Linked DNA regions of Homo sapiens: regions 1 and 2 are each linked to region 3. The links are contacts of gene promoters, found by promoter capture Hi-C in human tissues and cell types (Jung and others, 2019). All regions are on one chromosome and are shown on one strand. The core of a region is centred on a gene start or on the middle of the fragment in contact, and the rest is flanking DNA. Distances in the headings are between cores, read along the strand shown.

Region 1 (4,847 bases), core at 266-2,765, 60 kb after region 3:
GAATAAGTAAAACAACACTGCAACTGTGAAGGTACAAGGCAACTAAGAGTTGGCCTCAACATTGGAAAGAAAATAGGGAGTACTTATGGCAAACTGAGGAGGGTGTGTTTTATCTAACACACCCACCACACCAGCCCACTGGTGCCCCAATAAGGACAAACACGTATTGACAGATCTTCTGGTATTTCAAACGAAGCCAGAAATCAGACTTTTAGGTAAAGTCTCTCAATTTTTAAATATTGGCTCACTGAAAAACAAACACATACACAAACAAACTTGGATCCCAAACAAAATATTCCTATAGGCTTAATCCAGCCTACTGATGGGGAGGCTCTGCTCAATCACATTCACTTGACATCACTTAAATCTCGAGCTCATATTGCTCCCTAGCTCTTTTATATTACTATGTAATTTTCAGCGCTCAAGCTCTGTCTCCAATTACATCTGTTAAGCCACTTGAATAAGATATTTGAGAGCAGGAATAGTGTCTTGCTCAGGAAATATCCACAGCTGGTAAACTCTCCTTTGGGTGATATCCTTTAAGATCTTAAAATGGGTTGCTTCCCTCCAGAAGAACATGTTGACTTCTTTTTGCCTTGAAATGGGAATACAACAGCTGGCTGCCTCTGGGAGGTTGAAAATAAACAGGTTCAGAAGCTCTGAGAACAGCAAATGGGCGTTGTAGGTGGAGAAACAGCCCAAAATAAATACAGCTGTTGAGGTGGAAAATTCTATTTACTTTGGCTGTTTCGAGGTCTACACTGAGGAAGGGAGAGTTGCTATTCCTGAGACTCTCCATATACTGACAATGGGGGACCCACTCGGGGCTGGTCCCCAGTGCAGGACACATTCATACTCATCATTTCAGTGCATACTTGATGATGAGCACATCAACTGGGTATCTCAAATGAGGGAGGACATTTGTTAAAAATGAAAATGATGAGTGAAGGGCTCTGTACTGGATGGCCTATATTAATGTCTTCCCTGGCTTGGATTGTAACTCACATTGAACATTCCTTAACAATCAGGTTTTGTTTGCTACATAGACCTAACAGAAAAGACGCTAGCTCGGGAGGCAAAAAATCCAGCCTCTAGCATCAGTTTGCTAACTAGTTGTATGACCTTGATGAATCATTGCAATATTCTGGGCTTCCATTTGCTCAAACATAAAGTGAGAGATTGAGAGAGAAAATCTCTAGGGAGTCCGTGAGAAGAGTGGAAAGGGTACGGGATGAAGACCAGAAGGTTTTCATTTATGCCCTGACTCTGATAACTCTCTCCAGTGTGACCTTGGATGGCAAAACACATAATCTGTAAATCTCTGTCTTTACCTATGCCAGGCAGGACTAAGCACAGCCCTCTTCCCAGTATTGCAACTGTGAATGAGAAAATAAAATTTATGTGAAAGTGCTTTTCAAATGGATGTGTGAGTGGCTCATGCCTGTAATCCCAGCACTTTGCAAGGCTGAGGTGAGCGGATCACCTGAGGTCTGGAGTTCGAGACCAGCCTGGCCAACATGGTTAAACTCCATCTCTACCAAAAAAAAAAAAAAAAAAAAAGTTAGCCTAGCATAGTGAGTGGCATGCACCTGTAATCCTAGCTACTTGGAAGGCAGAGGTGGGAGAATTGCTTGAACCTGGGCGGCGGAAGTTGCTGTGAGCCTTCAGTGAGCCAAGATTGTACCACTGCGTTCCAGCCTGGGTGACAGAATGAGACCCTGTCTCAAAATAAATAAATAAATAAACAAACAAAAATCAAATGGATGTGTGAGCATATTGATATCAGACAGATCTAGTTTTCAATTCTGACTGTTACCAATTCTGTGTGCTTATGGGCAGGTGAGTTAAGTTCTGTAAGCATCATTTTCCCGATAATTACAAAATGAAAGTAATATCTACTTCATAGGATTGCTGAGATGACTAAAGTAAGTTAAATAATGTAAAAAAAAAATGTACTAGAGCAGGGACAGGCACAGAGTGCTATAAATAGTAATTACTAGTGCTAGTAAAAACACAAATGATATTGATATAAAATCTCCATCTCAAAAGCCTTATTCTGATCAGCTAAATCTTAAACTTTTTTTTACAATTTGATCTGAACCAAAATTATTTTTCTCCCTTTACAAGAAAAATCATTACAAAACAAAAACAGTGATCCAGTTTAAGTTGAGAATGAACTTAGTTGTTTTCTGAAGTCCACAAGAGAACAGAGCCAAAACATTCAAACATTCTGACCCAAGCTTAGCGTGCTTGCTACACTGAGGTAAAACATTAATGGGAAAGTCTCCTTCAGCCAGGAAATATCACCTTCCCTTTTTCAGAAGGGAGCCCATGGAAATGCTTGGGTTTATAGTGGTGGAGGAAACAAAACCAAAAATCTCAGACAGATACTGTTGCAGATTGTGTTCTCAGGGCAGCATTCCAGACTTCCGTAGAACCCAGCTCACAGGAGTAAACTCTTTGTCTTAATGGCTCTCCAGACCTTGCCAGTATCAGAGGGGACACTTGAAATCATACTGCATCCAGATGGCAAGAAACATCTTAAAACTCTCATCACAAGACAAGTGAATTAATCATTCATTTAATCATTGATTTACATATTCAAAACACAGCTATTACTGGTCTAATATGCCTAGCCACAGTACTAGCTCCTGGAGCTACAAAGCAAAGTCCTTTCTCTCAGTAATTATCTGAAATTCAAAGATTCTCACACATATCACTCTGGGGCTTTACAATGTCAGAGCTCTTGTGACTAAATATCAATATACATAAAACAATATTAAATGTTTCTACTTTTCACCATGGATATCTTACAGCTAAAGAGATACCCCCCATAGAAGAGAAAGACTATATACATAAACATGTTTGTGGTACATTATTTATAGTTGTAATAATATAAATGTACAACAAGTTGAATAATAGTTTAAAAGTTTGGGGTGTATGAAATGATGGAATACTATGTAAGACATTTAAAAGGACATAATTACAGATATCAGCATGATGAAAATTGCTCATTCATGCGAGATGATAGAAATAATGCAAAATTATGATGTATCGAAGACCTTCAAACTTGTGTGTGGTTGTAGCTATAAAACATATACATTTGTTTCTAAATAAGGCCTGGAAGATAAAACATTTTTAGTTATATAAAGATAGTGGAATTTTTGATAATTTTTTTCTATTTTCTAGACTTTCTATATTATTACATGTGTCAGCGAAGTAAGATGTTGACACCTGCTGTGATTTGAGTGATGGGAGAAAATGTTTCTTATCCTTATAAGTATCTCTTTCAATCTGTACACAGGGGTTATCAAGTTTTTCTTGTTTTTTCATTTTGTTTTGTTTTTTGAGACAAGGTCTCTCTCTTTCACCCTGGCTGAAGTGCAGTGGCGCAGTCACAGCTCACTGAAGACTCGAACTCCCGGGCTCAAGTGATTCTCCTGCCTTGGCCTTCCAAGTAGCTCGGACTACAGGCATGTGCCACTACACCCAACTAATTTTTTTATTTTTTGTAGAAATAGGGTTTCATTATGTTACCCAGGCTAGTCTCAAACTCCTGGGCTCAAGTGATCTTCTCACCTCAGCCTCCCAAAGTGCTGGGATTATAGGCATGAGCCACCCACACCTGGCCGGTTTATCAATTTTTAATTATCTTTCCAATCTGGTCCCTTTCTACATTCTCATTAATGTTGCTTTAGCTCAGCTTCTCATCTCACCTGATTCCTGCAGTAAGTAGCCTACTAACTCACCTCTGTCTTCATTTCCACACTTCCCAGTTGCTTCTCCCAACCACAAGCTTCTTATCCTCAAATGTTCAGTCCTGGTTTAAACAGCCTTCTCCAAACACACCAGACATGCATATGTATATTATGGTGGTACCTCAAATTGTTATGATCCCTGGCGGTACGGATTTATGGACAGCACAGAAAGGAAGCTGTTTAGCTTCCTTTCCTCTCTTCCACATATCCTCTCTTTGGTATGGCTAATTTGCAGTTCCTTCCATTTAGAAGGACCTGAGAGGTAGAAAAGTATACTGGATAAGACTTCAGCTTCTACACAAGAATAGCTAAGACACTGAAGAATTAAAATAAGGTAAGCGTTTGTCATGCAAGATCTAAGACTGATCAGAAGCTAAATAAATACAATAATCAGGTTATTTGCTCCCAGTAATGATTCAGTAGCTCCCATCAAACTAACTCTCCACATATAACCACAAAAAATCTAGGCAAAATATAAAAAACCAATTCCCTGGAACAACTGGAAAGCAACTAAAAGCAGGCAGAAGCTGGAGTGGGGGACCTGTACTTAGATGAAGGAAATGGAACTGGGTGAGTTATCTATTCTTTAATGGGTCTTTATTTGAGGGTAGGCATTAGTTGGCTAAATCTCAAATAGAAGTCTATAATCTTAGTGGCTTGAAATATCAAATAACAGAGTTTGGGAACCACCACAGCAGCTAAAAGTGAGGGGAGAAGTCCAGGAAAGGAGACAACCAGAAAGGAGAGTCACAAATTCTGCATATAAACTCTGCCCAAATCTCTGGCTGACCCCTAAGCTATGCGTGTGTAGTGCAAATCCTAAACAGCCTGCTAAGGATAAAGGAGTTAAACAAGATTTCACCTTCAAGGTAGACTGAGTTAGAAGTTAGAGTCCAGCAAAGTTAATTGTAAGCAAATTCAGCACTGTTCAGAAGAATATAACAGAATTCAGAATCCAAAATATCATTTAGAATGTCTAGGATAATCCAAAATTATAAAGAAAAAAATAGAATAATTAGAATAATGTGAAGAAATAGGATAATGTGATGCATATTCCAGAGACAATCAATCAGTGGAAACTGGACAGAT
Region 2 (4,634 bases), core at 681-3,180, 40 kb after region 3:
CACAATAGGCTGTTGGCAAGTTTACAGAGCAAGGAGAGCCAGTCCTAGTCTCAAACTAAAGAACTTGGAGTCCAGTGTTCCAGGGAAGGAAGCATCCATCACGGGAGAAAGATGTAGGCTGGGAGGCTAGACCAGTCTCACCTCTTCACGTTTTTCTTCCTGCTTTATATTCGCTGGCAGCTGATTAGATGGTGCCCACCAGATTAAGGGTGGGTCTCCCTTTCCCAGCCCAGTGACTCAAATATTAAATCTCCTTTGGCAACACCCTCACAGACACACCCAGGATCAATACTTTGTATCCTTCAATCCAATCAAGTTGACCCTCAGTATTAACTATCATACCTGCCAAAATTACAAATGCATATACTTTTTGATCTAGGAATTTCTTCTACAGCCTTACTTGCATTTGTATGAAATAAAGCATATTTAAGACTATTTGTTGCCATATTATTAGTAAGAATAACAGATTATATATACTTCTGCTCCTAGGTAGAATGTAGTAGGTCAAAGCAGGTCAAAGGTCTTGCTGCAGCAACTAGTAACAAATTAATACATTGAAAGAAACATGTTAAAGTTATAAAAGAGCTATAGAGGACCACATGATGTCTAGGTACAGAAGGACGCTGGGCACAGTGACTCATGCCTGTAATCCCAGCACTTGCAGAGGCCAAAGTGGGTGTATCACTAGAGCCCAGGAGTTAAAGACCAGTCATGGCAAAACCCCATCTCTACTAAAAATACAAAGATTAGCCACCTGTAATCCCAGTCACTCAGGTGGCTGAGGAATGAGAATCACTTGAACTCAGGAGGCGGAGGTTACAGTGAGCCAAGATCGCACCTCTGCACTCCAGCCTGGGCGACAGAGCAAGGCTCTGTCTCAAAAAGACTAAAAAAGGAAAAAATTTTCTTAAAGCTGAGAAGAAATAGACACTCCAGGCTCTCAATCAAAAGCTTGGAAAGACTATATCTAAAAAGCAGGGATAAACCAGGGGTGGACAGAATCTTGCTAAAATTGTAAATGCAGCCCTACTTCAACTCAGTTCCCATTGAAATGAGGTAATTAGCTCCTGGTCCTAACAAAAAAGAAAAAAAAAAGATACCTCTCTGGTGGAAGATACCATCAGAAGTCTACAGTTATTTTATACCAATGCCCAGCATGCAATCAAAATTTACTGCACATTAAAACAATCAGGATAGGTAATAATAATCAAAAAATAAAATAAATACAAGCCCAAAGAGAATTGAGATGAGAAAAAGCACAATAAAATAACCATGGCATGTTAAAAAAAAGTTTCAAAAAGCATGTTAAAAAAAAGTGAAAATTATATTTTAACAGATAATTGGGCTCTATCAAATTTTTAAATGGGTATTTTAGAACTGAAAAGTATAATGTTTGGATTTGAGAACTAATTAGGTAGGTTTAAAAGCAAACTGGATATAGATGATAGGATTAGTTAATTTAAAGACGGATCAATAGAAACTATTCAAATTGGATCACAGAGAAAAACCAAACTGGAAAGAAAGAGTATGTCCAAATGTGGAACATACTCCAACAGTTTAATAAAGTGTAATAGAGTCTCAAAGGAGAGAAAGGAGAGAGAATGGAGCAGAAGCAATATTTGAAAACACACAACTGAGAAATTTCTAATAGTAATGGAAGATATAAACCCACCAATTCCAGAAGTTCAAGAGTCCCTAAGCAGAATAAGTACAATGCCAACAGTAACACCAACAAACCCACCATACCTGGACACATTGTAGAAATTGTTGAAAAAGAATGACAAGTTCTAAAGCAACCAGAGCTGGGGAAAGCCCAAGTCTTCAGGGGAACTACAATAAGACTGACAGCTAACTTCAAACAAAACAAAACAAAACAAAAAACAAAAAAAAACACTGTGTGGCAGCCACGGAATTGCACCCCTCAGATCTCCCTTCAAGAGATCATGCTGTGGGGCGCTCATCTTATTGACAGCTGCTGCACTGTTAGATCCACTAAAACTTTCATATCAAATCATACTTCCCCTGGGCTGCTTCCAGTCAATGAATTAGCTCAATGGGGGTATGAAAATCAGGCTATATTGGTAGATGCAGAATTTCTTTAACAGGCAATTTGGCTCAGGAGATCTCTACTGACCTGGCCATGAATTTAACAGACCCGTCGATAGTCTGAGGCTCTTCTGGCCTAATCCTTCCTCACCTGTCTTCTTTCACAGGTGCTGGACCTGTCTTGGTGTCTGAAGGTTCTCCCTGCCTACTCCTCTCCTTCTTTTTTTATCCTTTACAGGCATTTCCCCCGAACAAATTTCTTATATTTTTAATCCTATCTTGGTGTCTGCTTCTCATGGAACCCAAAATGACACACTGTGGAAATCAGGAGACGATGTCATGATATTTTTAAAATGAAAAAACAAAAAGGCAAACAAGACCTCTCAACCTAGAATTATACACCAGTAAGAATATTTCCTTCAAATTAAAATAGAATTTGTTGCTAGCTGCACAGCATTGAAGTAAGTACTAAAGGGAGTTCTACCAGCAGAAGGGAAATTTTCTGAGCTAGAAACACAGAAAATTAGAAGGAAATGAAAAACACCGAAAAGACTATAAATCAGTGAATAAATATAAAAGAATACTAACTATTTAAAGCAACAAGGCACAGTGGCTCATGACTGTAATCCCAGAACTTTGGGAGGCTGAGAAGGTAGGTTCGTTTGAGCCCAGAGTTTGATTGCAGCCTAAGCAACATGATGAATCCCTGTCTCTAGGAAAGATACTAAAAAATTAGCCAGGCATGGTGGAGTGTACCTGTAGTCCCAGGTACTTGAGAGGCTGAGGAGGCTGAGGAGGCAGGAGGTCAAGGCTGCAATGAGCTGTGATTGAGCCACTGTACTCCAGCCTGGGCAACACAGCAAGACTCTGTCTCGAAACTACAAATAAACAAATAAAGCAACAACAATAGCATCTTTTGGAGCTTAGAACATGTAACATAGTGTAAAATATGTGACAATAGCAAAAAAGGTAAGAGAAAGGGGCAAATGGAGTCAAGTTATAAGATTCTTACATTCTATGTAGAATTAGATTACTAGTTAAGGTAGACTGTAACTAGTTAAGGATGCATGTTGAAATCGCTAGGGCAATGGTTCTCAACCTGGAGCAATTTCACTCAAGAGGCATTTGACAAAAGAAATTTCACTAAAGAGGCATTTGATAAAAGAGAGAAGGAAAGGAAAGGAAAGGAAGAAAAGAGAAAGAAAGATGAAGGGAGGTAAGAAGGAAGGAAAGAGGGACATATATTTGGCAATATCTGAAGACATTTTTGGTTGTCACAATTATGGGTTGGAGGAGATGTCAAAATTATTCTGCATTGAAACACTAACTAAAAGATGGATATTCTCAGAGTGGATTGAAAAACATGACCCAACTATATGCTGTCTCTAAGAAACTTACTTCAAGCATAATGATATAGGTAGGTTAAAAATAAAGGATACGAAAACATATTCAATGTAAATCTTTAACAAAAGAAAGCTAGAGCGGCTGTATTAATATCAGAGAAAGAAGAATGAAGAGCAAAATAATTTACCAAGGATAAAGAGGGACACTATATAATGATAAAAGGGTTATTTCACCAAGAAGATACAATAAATCCGAAGTATGTTTGCTCCTTACAATAGAACTTCAAGTTGCATGAAACTAAAAGTAGAAGCAGACAAATCCCTCATTATAATAAAAGGCTTCAACTCTCCCTTCTCAGTAATTGATAGAACTAATAAAAAATCAGCAAGGATATTAATAAACTGTAAAACACTATCAACTGACTGGATCTAATTGAAATTTTTAGAACATTCCAGGACCAATAGCAGAATATATATTTTTTTCAAGTGCACATGGAACATTCACCAAGATAGACAGTATCCTGAGTTATAAAATAAAGTTTAACACATTTAAAAGAATTGAAATGATACAAGGTTTATTCTCTGACTATACTAGAATTAAACTAGAAACTGATGATAGAAAGATAACAGGAAATCTCAAAAACTTGACAACACACTTCTAAATAATCCATGCATTAAAGAAGTCTCAAGGGAAATTAGAAAATATTTGGAACTAAATGAAAGTAAAACATACCAAAATTTGCCAGATGACAAAGCAGTGCCTAGCGGGGAATTTATAGCATCAAATGCTAACAGAAAGCACCTTGAGAAACCCAAAAAGAAGAGCAAAATAAACCCAATGCAAGCAGAAGGGAAAACATAATAATGCAGAAATCAATAAAATTGAAAACAGAAAAAGAGAAAGTCAATACAACCAAAATCTTGTTCTGTTAAAAAATTAATAAAATTAAAATTGTATCAAAATTGACAAAGAAAGAAGACATACACTACTGATATCAGGAATTAAAAAGAAAATATCACCTAGACCCCAGCATACATTAAAAAAACAAAGAACTTATACAAGCAATTCCGCACACAAAAATTTGACAACCTAGAAAGAAAAAATGGACAAATGCCTTGAAAACCAAAAATGCCAAAACTCACCCATAATGAAACAGATTATCTGAATAATAGAATAATACAAAAAATTAAATAAATTGAATTCATAGTTTAAAATCTTCTGGAAATAATTCATCCAGCATTTCT
Region 3 (4,943 bases), core at 713-3,212:
CAAAAAGAACCACAGAACAGACGAAATAACTGAAATGAGTTACTGAAATGCAACTGGGGCTTTAATTTCCAAATCTATCTTATAACGGTCTTACTTGAAGAGTTTATCACAGAAGTAACTGTCCTCAAAAGTTACATAATTTGAGAAAAAAAGAGAGGGAAGGGGAGAGACAGAGAAAGACATGACACACATTAGGGATGTTTGTCAATAAAAATAAGCAACAAGGGAGGAAAGCCTGTAGCACATCCAAAAAACGTCTGCCAAACACTCTTGCTATTTGTTTCCACCAAGTTATTGTTTTGGAAAACATGTTGTTCTCTCTTAAAATAACCTGCTTAATTGTTCTAAAAAGCCACTGCATTTCCACAGAGGGCTAAATCATTCCCATACTGCGATGCATTGACTGATAAAGTCAAAGTAAGTTATGCATAAAGCCACAAATAACGTTTGAAAAACTCCAAACTCCTCCATGATAAAAGAACACTAGCTACTGAATGAATCTTCACCAGCGCCCTAAGTGAGACTAACGCCTGGTCCCGTACACGTATTTTAAGAATAACAGTCATTCAAACTAACTCATTTCTCTCTTTGGATGTGGGAAATGAGCCACATCGGTGGCTACAGGTAGGCTAGTAATTATCTGTTTTAAGAAAGGTCAAAATGACCTTGGACGTTTTGACGTTCACTCCAACACTCGTATTATAAATCAGAATCTGTTTTCGGTCCAGTATGGTTGAAGATTTTCTACCTGGGAAAGTCCCAAAGAAATTAAAGAGTTAAAAATAATTCTAAGTTGTGAAAGACAAAGTCAGACACCCATAGCATAGGAAGATTTTTATGGACTGAATGTAACTCAAGATGTGTTTTATAAGCCTGTCAAGAGATGAACACTGTCCTCAAACACAGCAGCACTGCCTCCACACTCCCCCCTCGCTTTGGCTGCTCACCCCGATCCTGGCCCTCCTTGACCACAGGGGTGGGGGCGGGAGCTCCTGTCTTAAGCCTTGACATCTGCAGAGCGTTTCCCAATAGTGAGACAAGGCCCCTCAGCTGGAGGAAGTGGATACTGACAAGGGGAGAGAGTGAAACAGACGGAGAGAGACAGAACTCGAGGCTGCCAGGGAATGGGGAGGGTCACGCATACTCTGTGCGGCCCGAGTGGTCCGGATGGCACAGCCCAGGTGTCCGGGCTAAAGTTGGCATCTCCAAAGTCCAGAACGCAACTTGGGCGCGCCAGTACAAACTCGGCCTTCGGCTTTTCTGAAGCCAGTCAAGTTCGCACAGGGCCCCCAGCGCCTGGAAATCTGAGAGGCGTGGAAGGGTGGGGAGTCCCGCGAAGTCTCCAGTCCCTGGGTGTCCTCCGGCTCCGCGGGGGAGCGGGCCTGGAGCTAAACCGGCCGGCCGTAGGCTGGAGTAGCGGGCGCCGGAGCGCGCGGTGGGGATGTCCGAAAAGGAGTTAGAGGCTCAGTCGGAGAGTCCGAGAACACGAGGGATGCCTACCTTGTAACATGGCCTCAAGTTTCTTCCTGTCCACGCGGAAGCGCTCCTCGCTCCACTCCGGGCTGTGCAGGGTCGCCCCGGCGACCAAGTCGTCCTCGGAGCCGGGCACTGGGGAGTCGGTGCTGCGCTCGCTGTTGGAGCCGGGGTCCGACTGCGCCGCCAGGTAGCCGGGCTCTCCCTGGGCGGCCATGGTGGGCGCGCAGCGCTCGGGCTCCCGCTGCCGCCGCCGCTCTGCCTGCGCTGCCGCCTCCGCTCGCCGGCCGGGCTCAACTGGCTCCCAGCGCCGCGGCGCTAGCTCGTCCCCCTGCAGCCGCCGACGCCACCGCCAACGCCGCCGCCGCCACTGAGCCCCCGGCGCATCCCAGCCCCGGGCGCCGCCCACGCCACCCGCCACCCCGGGTCGCGGCCCCGGTCCGGGTCCAGTGGCTGCGCCGCCCCCCGCCAGCAACGCCCGCGCGGAATGAGCGCGCCGCGCTGCCCGCGCCTCCATCCGCAGGGCTCGGCGCCCCCTCCCCGCCCGCCGCCCCTACAGCCGCGCGCTCATTGGCCCGGCCAGCCCACGGGGAGCCGCGGCGGGCGGGCGGCCCCTGGCGCTCACACACTCGCGCGCGCACACACACACCACGTACACACTGCCACTTTCTGCACTTACACGTATAAATCCTTTCCATACATGCACTTTCATAGCTCCTCAAACACACACACTCCTGAACGCACATGGAGTATCCACGTAATTCCTGTCTACACACACACATCACACACACTACTACTTTTCTGCACTTACACATACAAATCTCTTCCCCCTACATGCTCTCATAATCCTCCAAACACACAAACACAAACACGCCAAGTTCAAGCACAGCAGAGTCCTGAACGCACACTAAGCGCATACACAATTCCGCTGTTTACATACATACCCTACACCCTGAAACTCACAGCCCCAGTTGGTTCCACAAGCTCGAACGTGAGGAAGAGGAAAAAGAAGGCTTGGAGAAGAAATCATGCCCGTCTTTCGCAGGCATCGCCATGGACGTGGCTCGCATGTAGTTCATACCTCCAGGAAGGGCTCAAACCCAGACACCTCGTCTCCTCCCAGCAAAGTGGCCCGCTGCACGAGAGGTGGACAAGAGGCTTACTCTTTTTATTCTGAGAAAGGGAATTTTTTTTTTTCTTGAATGGAGTAAGGAAGGAATTGTTTTCTCTGTGATTCTCAAGGAATGGACTCAGCAGACTTTTTTTTTTTTTTAAGTAGAAAAGGGGCTCGGAGATCGCTGTGTTGGCGAGCTGGATCCAGCTGGCACGTGGGCAGGGCTGTCTTGTCAGGGACTGAGGGCTTTTCTCTGTTTTCAAGGTCAGTCTCTGACAGATGACGGCCAGTAACCTCTGAGCCTCACTGCCGAGGGCCAGCCCACCCACGGCCTCTGTCAAGCTTGGATATGAAGCGCGGGGGAAGAGGAGACTCGCTCGTACTGGGTGTGCCCTTGGAACTCTGTTTTCCCAGTTCACACAGATTCATAGCCTATTATTTTATGACCCAAAGTACAAAGACTTGCGGGGAGGAATGATGGGGATAGCAGTTTGTCACTGCGCCACAGAAGGAGGCTGCCTGGCTCACATGTAGGAAGAGCCATATCACTGGCACAGGCCTCTGGATAATCATGGAATATGCTGAAGGTAAATCAAAATTATTTCAGGTTCAGCTGCCTAGTTAACAGGAATTGACCCTGTGATGGGTACAGATGAGGAAACTGAGACCGTGGGAAATAAAGTAACTTGACTAAGGTTGTCCAGCAGCAGATAATACAGCCAATTAATCAGACCCAGGTCTGTGGGTCTTTATATAAAGTCTTACCTTTTTGAGCGGAGACCCCTCCTGCCCAGAGTCACCTCCTGAAGAACTGAGAGCATCTGCACACTTAACTGCTCTGATTCACCACCATGTGTTCCTTTTATAAACTTGTTAATTACTGTTAATTTCTATCCAAGGCACTAGTTTCAGCACCCAAAGGGTTTATGTAGGAGCATTCCCACTGTTTTCCATCAGGGACATTTACTGTGTTTTTCTATCAACAAATATTTATTGGGACCCTACTATGTACTTGGCACTGTTAAGCCCAAGGAATAGTAAGCAAAGACAGACACATCCCTGTACTCCCTCCTGGAGCTGAAATTCTAATGAGAAGGAATACTGACCAAAAAATAAATCACAAATATAAAATCATGCCCGCAGTAAGCATTACAAACAAGAGACTCAAGATATGAGAAAACCTATGATAGAGTAATTGGATTCAGTCAGAGAGGTCAGTGAAGGCTTCTCGAAACAGTGACTCTAACTCAGAACAGACGTTGGAAGAGAAGTTAACTAGGCAAGGGAAGGAAGAGCCATCCCTGCAAATGATCATCTGATCATAGTAACATCCCTGAAGGTAGATACTACAATTATCCTCATTTTAGAGTTGAGGAAACTGAGGCACAAAAGGTAAAATGACTTGCTCAAGGTTGCACGACTAAGTTGAAGAATAAGAATTTGAACCCAGGCAGTCTCTTGAAAATTAGGCTTCAGGTGCTTTATGCTTAGCCAATAAGTTATATTGGCTCTCAATAAGATTAGCACAAGTAAAGACACTGTAGCAGAAGGGGGCAGTATGCATTCCCCCATTGGATGAACTAAAAGAAGGCCAGCGTAGCTGGTACAAGGAAACAAGGAATTAGGACTCACTGGGGCAGGAGTTATAAGTAAGAGGGGGCATATGTAAGCAGCATAGGTCAAATTAAGGAGTTTTTGTCTTTATCCTTAGAATAAAAGGAAATCATATAGAGGCTGTAAGTAAAGAAAGATGTGCTTAGATTTGCATTTTCAAAAGTTGACTATGGCTCTAGTGTGGAGAACAGACTGAGGGACAAGGATAGATAGAAGCAGTTGGACCAATTAAGAGACTATATGGGAAGTTTAGATAATAAATGCTGCTAGCTTACATAGGTGGTGAAGATGAGAGACATGAGAGGATTTGAGAAATATTTAAACAGTAAGTATCACCAAGTAGATTGGTGATGAATTAGAAATAGTGTGATGGGAAGAGAAATGTTGAGAATATCTCCAGGGTTCTGGCTAACATAATAAGAGAGAGATAGGTGTCATTAACTGAAACTGGGAATATTGAAAGAAAATCACAATGGAAGAAAGTTCATGAAGTTGAATTCGGCATTTTGAGTTTGAAATGATGTTGAGATCTCCAAGAAGAGATGTTGTGTTAGCAATTGAATAGGTCTGGAATTCAGTAAAGGAATCTTGGCTAGAGATTAAAATGTGTTACTTGTTTATAGGTAACAATTCTAGCCATCTACCTGGGTCAGACTGTCTAGGGAAAAAGAAGAGACTTAGAAGAAAAGGGAACCAAGGAATGTGACTTTTTAAAATTCTGACAGTGGTCAAGTAGAGGACA

Evidence for each region. Contacts are between HindIII fragments. The study calls those that stand out against the background at their distance.
Region 1: a contact is called between a fragment that was not itself captured here and the fragment with the promoter of BICC1 in region 3, in 1 of the 25 tissues and cell types used here (mesendoderm cells).
Region 2: a contact is called between a fragment that was not itself captured here and the fragment with the promoter of BICC1 in region 3, in 1 of the 25 tissues and cell types used here (IMR-90 fibroblasts).

The regions. Positions count from the first base shown.
Region 1 is chr10:58,449,137-58,453,983 of GRCh38, reverse strand. The region is part of intron 1 of LOC105378316 (a long non-coding RNA gene); the gene reads right to left. Among named protein-coding and RNA genes, the nearest start is that of BICC1, 61 kb to the left of the region's middle. The HindIII fragment of the contact is 7,097 bases long and covers 1-4,847 here.
Region 2 is chr10:58,470,190-58,474,823 of GRCh38, reverse strand. All of the region lies in intron 3 of LOC105378316 (a long non-coding RNA gene), which reads right to left. Among named protein-coding and RNA genes, the nearest start is that of BICC1, 40 kb to the left of the region's middle. The HindIII fragment of the contact is 5,137 bases long and covers 1-4,498 here.
Region 3 is chr10:58,509,891-58,514,833 of GRCh38, reverse strand. BICC1 (BicC family RNA binding protein 1) reads right to left here and starts at 1,962. Exons shown (of 21, transcript NM_001080512.3): 1 at 1,501-1,962. The coding sequence starts at 1,690. It overlaps LOC124902427 (a long non-coding RNA gene), which reads left to right and starts at 2,782. Exons shown (of 2, transcript XR_007062147.1): 1 at 2,782-3,174. The HindIII fragment of the contact is 7,114 bases long and covers 1-4,943 here.